Linked DNA regions of Homo sapiens: region 2 is linked to region 1. Evidence: promoter capture Hi-C in 16 types of primary human blood cells and fetal thymus (Javierre and others, 2016). All regions are on one chromosome and are shown on one strand. The core of a region is centred on a gene start or on the middle of the fragment in contact, and the rest is flanking DNA. Distances in the headings are between cores, read along the strand shown.

Region 1 (3,007 bases), core at 36-2,535:
CTCCTGAATTTTAATGTCACACTTGTCATACACCAAGTTATCAAATATGTGAATCTGTTCTGAGTTTTGTTTTGTTGGTCTATTAATTTTATTTCTGACACAATAATACAGTTGTATAATTACAACATTAGAATATCAATATCTGGTAAAGTAATATCAGTGAAACTGATTTATGAATTGCATGTAAAAATTTTAAGGCCACCATGTCAATGTAATTAGCACTGGCCTACAGATAACCTATTGATTTGACCACTTTGCTCTTGTATGTAGAAACTTTGCTTAACTCTCCTATTCCAGTTCTTCAGCTGTACAATTATTGGATTTTCTATAAAAAAAAATATTCAAATAATCAATATTTGATCTTCCCTAATCCATATAACTGGTTATTTCTTTCTTATTTCATTGGTTAGGAACTCCAGAGCAATGATGATTATTGGTGGAGATAATAAGTATTAATGCTTGTTCCTAATGTTAATGGGAATTTTATAACTCTCATACATTATTTCTAGGATAAATCATATTTGATCATAATGCATTTTTTAAAATGCTTGATTCAATTTGTCAACATCTTATGATACTTGCATGTACTCATAAGGAAGATTAACCTATAATTTTTCTTTCTCTTATTTTTCTAGTTCAGCTAACTAGAATATATTAACTTCATGAGAGAAACTACAGAATTTTCCTCTTTTTCTGTATTTTGTAGCATTTTGTGCTAAAGAGATTTTTCTGTGCTTTGAATGTTTGTTGGTAATCCCTGTGTAAAATTTTCTAGACTTACTGTTATTTATTTTGGGTAGGTTTTTGCTTACTAATTCAATTTTTCCAAAGGCTTTCTCCTCAGACATAGATTTACTCTTGAGTCAATTTTGGTAATTTAAATTTTTAGTGATGCCCACCTGCAAAGGGCCAGGTCTGGCATACAGTTTGAAATTTGCTGCCAGAGTCCCATTTTGCAATCCCGAACTTCTGGTGGAGACTGGGGTGTCCATGGCCCACTACCCAGTGGCGAGTAAACTCTTTGCTCCCAGACTGTTGCAAGAAGCTTAAAGGATGGCCTCCAGATCTGGAACAATTATGTTCTCATATTAATAAAAAGATTAACAATATTTTTAAAAATCTGTCATTGAGAAACTGGCCAAGAACCTACCTTGAAGAATATCTTAATAGGAGATGAGATCACTGTAAGAAATGAACTTCTAAATAAATTTGAATAGGAAATTCAGTATTAAGAACAAACCAACAATTCACTCAAGGAACTCTGTAAATCTCTTGAAGAATATTATAAAATGTGGAATATCTCAAAGAAAACTTTCCTTCCCATGTGCCTCAAATAACAGGTCTCAAACTCCTAGCCTCAATCAGTCCTCCCACCTCAGCCTCCCAAAGTGCTGGGATTACAGGTGTGAGCCACTGTCCCCAGCCATAATTTATTTATATTTTATTTCTTTAGCTTTTTCATCTTCTATCCTGTTTCATATAAAATTCAAACTTTTTTGGATAAATTTTTTAATCAAATGCTTCCGTTTAAGTTAGTTTTAGCATTTATTTTTATAAAATTTTAGCATGTAATTTTAAAATAATTTTTTATATTTTAAGATCATACCTGTCCATGTGACTCCAATTCAGCTGTAAAAGATCTGAGAAATATTTGATCTGTTGTCCAGGAAGAAAAGGAGAGGAGGAACATTCTTCTATCATTTCACTCTTACCTGTATATGAAGAATATACTTACCTCCCCCGAAGGAGGACAATCTGAAGTCCCTTCTAGTTAGTGCATTCAGCTCAAAGCCCAAGACATTCAAGAAATGTGTCATCTTCTCCAATACGTGAATGTTTGAATTCTCCTGAAATAAAATCCCATGAACTGAAGAAATATCCTGTCTTTACCACCACTCCCATATACACCTACATGTGAGGGTGCATGCATGCACATGAACACACACACATCTAATATACAAAATGAATCAAGGACAGAAGTAGCTATAATAGGAATCTGATTAGTAAGGGTAGGAATGGAAGGCAAGCAACAGTAACCAGTGCATATAGATCTTAAACAACAGATCGCCAAACACACTGCAGAATGATAAGAGGGTCTGAAATGTAATACATCAAGTGTTAATGTGCCAGACCTAGAAGTGGCAAATGTCACTTGGACATATTCCACTGGCTAAAACTCAGTTACATAGGCCCAGTAAAATGATAAAAAGCCTATGTAAGTTTTGGTTGTATGCCAAAAAAGAAGAGGACAAAATGGATATTGATGTGCACTAACAGTCTGTGTCATCATGGTGACATGATCCTTCTATCATGAAGTAATCAACCTCTTTAGAGAAAAATCATTATTAGACTTAAAGTTGTTTTCTAATATCAATATTACTGTCAGATCTATTTTGGTCCGGTTCCTGGTGTACAGTTTTTCAACCTATGACAGTAAGTTCTCAACGTTGTTGATAGGGTCTTGGAAACTTCAACTTCAAGTGAGATGCCATGTAACAAAACCAGTTTTACTATAGGCTAATTAATATAAACAAGAATTAGTTCCTATGGCATATTTGTATCACAAAAACATCAACAAATTTCTAAGTGAAGACTTGAAACACTTCTAATGTTGAATATTGATATAAATGTAAGCTATACATACATTTAAGAAAAATCAACAAAAATAAGTAAGCAATTTGTCCAATTTTTGGTGAATCAGTGAGTGACAGCCGTCATCCTGGTGGTAGGTTAAATCAAGAAATAAATGTTTGTAAAGTGAAAATTGTCAGGAGTACCTCCTACCAACACACAGTTCAAAAACAAACAATATTCAATAAGGCAGACTCTCTAAGCACTTTCATACAACATTTCTTATTATTTTGCATTTGTATGATTATCAAATACTTTATATTTTATCTTATAATAATTTGTATTCATTTATTCTTTCATTTTCCAACCCACTTACTCCAGTTCAGGTTACAGGAGGCCAAAGCCCATTCAGCAGTTCAGGATACAAGGTGGGAAG
Region 2 (3,171 bases), core at 24-2,523, 260 kb before region 1:
CCCCCTTCTCATGTTCACTTTTCTTACTGAACTTGTAACATCTGACATACTACATATTTTATGTGTTTGTTTATTTTCTTTCTTATTTAACTAGAATACAAACTCCATAAGAGCAGGGATTTGTGTGGGTTTTTCTCATTGCTATATAGCCAGCATCTAGAACTATGTCATCACATACTATATGCTCAATAAATTGTTATGGCAAAAATACATTAATCAATTTAAGTTAGGGATGTTATTTCAAAAAGCAGTACTTGTTAAACCAGAATAAACTGGGTTTAATTGGAAAAAATAAATAGTACATTTATTTATAGTAAAAATGTTATTTGTGATATCTCAGAGTAAACAGGGTCTCTCAATTATGAGAATAATTCATAAGGAAGAAGAAAGGTAGAATTGGAAACCAATAGAAAACACTTCAATGTAACAAAACTAGTTAGTATAGGAAGTACCAGCTCAAACCTGGGCAGTAGAAGTTGTTGTCAGCAAAATTTGGTTTCAGGATTTTATTATTCAAGGCTTCAGGGAGTAGGAGCAGGCAGTATTTTTCCTTCTAGTTAGAGGACTGTAGGCCAGTGACCATAAATATCACCATTCTACTACCAATTTGGAACAGATAAACATAAATAGGATATATTTGACCCAGTTTGTCAAAAACTGCATTCTGTCTATATGAAGCAAATTAAAGAAAGGCATATGATTGCGGAGATCAATGCTATCTGAAACTAAGCAATTCTAACTATTGTCTAAGAATTGGAGTGCAATGCTATCATAGAGGCATTGCAAAGCTCAGGATGGTAGTTATTTCCAGGGTCATGACCCATGATTCCATGAAATGGAAATGCCACCCCTTAGCTAGGATTGTGAGAATGGGAACTTTTAAAGCACTAAGCACACCAAAAAGCCATCCTCAATGATATGGAAAGTAAGGCTTTTCTGGAAATGTTCTGGCGACAAGTGAGATTGCAGAAAATTTCAAGAGGAATGGGGCTTTCTAGATCCTATGAGCAAATATGCTTGGTTGACTATAGAGTTCTCTTTCCTTTTATAGAGGGGCTAGGGAAACAGGCAAATTTCTAGGTGGAGTATCATGCCAAGCACAGGCAGTACATGACTTTAAAGGGGAGTTGATACAGGGTCAACTTACTGTTCTCTGGATCCCATCGTAGGGAACAGGAATGGGAAGAAATATTATTTTAATGGAAACAGGAGCATACCATTCTCAAAGAGACAAAACCTTGGCAATGAGCACTGTCTTTCAAGACTATAAATCAGAGACTGAAGCCTCAGGATAGAGAATAATGTTGATACTCTCACCACACCCATTTCCTCATGCTTCAGAGACAGCTGTTCATTCTCATTCCCCAATTACGCAAATTTTTAAGTGATTTCTTCCAGTTTTGGAGAGCTCCGCCTGAAACAGTTTCTCATACTAGATTTGCATGTCATAGGGATTGAGTAGCCTGAAAGAGTGTCCATAAGATATTAGATGATATGTTTTTATCTTTTCCAGAACATGACCTGTGGAAAGAGTTTATGGGCAACTTTCTTTTCCAGCTACAGAAAATATTTTGCTGAAGGAAAGGTGTAACCTAATGAAAATATTGATTTTGAAAATATAATATGGTTTGCAACTACTTAAGTCATCCTTGGTATAAGCATTTACCGAGATAAATGGTCCTTTGTTTCTAGGAAATTATCTTGATGGGCCACAAGAGACTTTTTTATTTTACAAGATAATGGGGGCTCCCATGATAATCTAGATAGATAAATCCTAGTGTGGGAAATTGACTGAAATCTCTCTTGCGAAATAGAGTAACAGGAATTTTTTAATTATTTACTAATAACTACAAAATGTTAGTTGGCAAATGGGGTGAGAACCCTGGAAAAAGAAAGGGAATCAATCTTCACAGACAGTTGGACAGACCTTTGCTTTCCAACATGATAGCCACTAGTCACGTGACTAAATTTACATTCAAATAAAATTTAAAATTTAGTTCCTCAGCCTCGCTAACCACATGTGAAGTGCTCAATAGCCACATGTGTCCAGTGGCTACTGTATTGAACAGTGCGGAAAGTTTTGTTAAACAACTCTGGTCTAGAGAGATATGACTCTCAGGAACATGGTTTTAGGAAGGGCAGATAATTGTTTTCTCGCTGTAAGGAAGTTCTATTTTTTGTGAGTTGTCAACAGAAATGTGTTTTGCCCAGAATTTCAGTCATTAATATTAATGGTACTTTGGAGAATGGAGAAAGAGAAGCAAAGTTCCAAAGTTGGGGGGACTAGCCACAAAGTAAACAGAAGCCTGATGTTCAGCAGGAGACATGACAATGAGTGCTGGAGATGACAGTAAAGAAGCAAACTTCAAGCAACCTCGATTTTTTTTCAAATGTTTTAGGGAAAGTTAGCCCTCAAAAGAATGAAGTGGATTGAAGCTAGGTAGTGCTATTTTATAAAAAGAAATTTGAGCCATTTTATTTAAATGTTAGAATAAATGGTAGCTCCAAAAACTGGAGGACTTGTTGATTTCCAAGAGGCAGACATTTTGCTTACCCTCATATAAGTATCAAATACTTTTTGAAGTAAGGACGTGGACTGTTGACTTCCTGGTTGTAGCCCCAGAGATGTAAGTGCTTTACTGCAGGGAAGTAAACCAAGGGTGTTTACTTCAGTTCATTATAGATGAGAGGATTTTTTTTCTAAGACTAACGTTTAGCCTTTCCTAAGATAATTTCACATCAAAGATATACATAGCAGAAGACTGACCTGGCTTGGACTGCCCCTCTCAGGCTTATCAAAACTCTCCACAAAAGATGGAAAGTTGTACCTATAATATCTGCGTGGACTTTTCACTGAATCTACTATTATTTTTCCAAATGAAAAAACCATAATTACCCTATATTGCCTCCCTGTTTAGAGAAAGAAAAAATTGAAAGGGACTTATTTATTTCTAGCAAGAATGACCCAAATTCTTGTTTTCCAGAACTGTATGGTTTGAGAAACAATATTATACTTATATTGGAGTGTACCCTCCATTTCATTCACTAAATAGCAGATTTCTTGAAGAGAAACAACTGCTATCCTTCACAATGCCTAGAAAAGAGCATTTGATAATGAATATTTACTAATTACATCCCAAGTTAGTGCAAAGATCAAGAGCTACACTCTGT

What was found. The method cuts DNA at HindIII sites, captures the fragments that hold promoters and counts their contacts. A CHiCAGO score of 5 or more calls a contact.
Region 2: a fragment that was not itself captured here is called in contact with the fragment with the promoter of LINC01949 in region 1 in 7 of 17 cell types (M2 macrophages, M1 macrophages, M0 macrophages and 4 more); the score reaches 26.6 in M2 macrophages.

The regions. Positions count from the first base shown.
Region 1 is chr5:87,237,916-87,240,922 of GRCh38, forward strand. It overlaps LINC01949 (long intergenic non-protein coding RNA 1949), which reads right to left and starts at 1,286. Exons shown (of 3, transcript NR_130914.1): 1 at 1,151-1,286; 2 at 900-1,066. All of the region lies in intron 2 of LOC101929380 (a long non-coding RNA gene), which reads left to right. The HindIII fragment of the contact is 4,009 bases long and covers 1,044-3,007 here.
Region 2 is chr5:86,976,049-86,979,219 of GRCh38, forward strand. No RefSeq gene overlaps it. Among named protein-coding and RNA genes, the nearest start is that of MIR4280, 140 kb to the right of the region's middle. The HindIII fragment of the contact is 5,108 bases long and covers 1-3,171 here.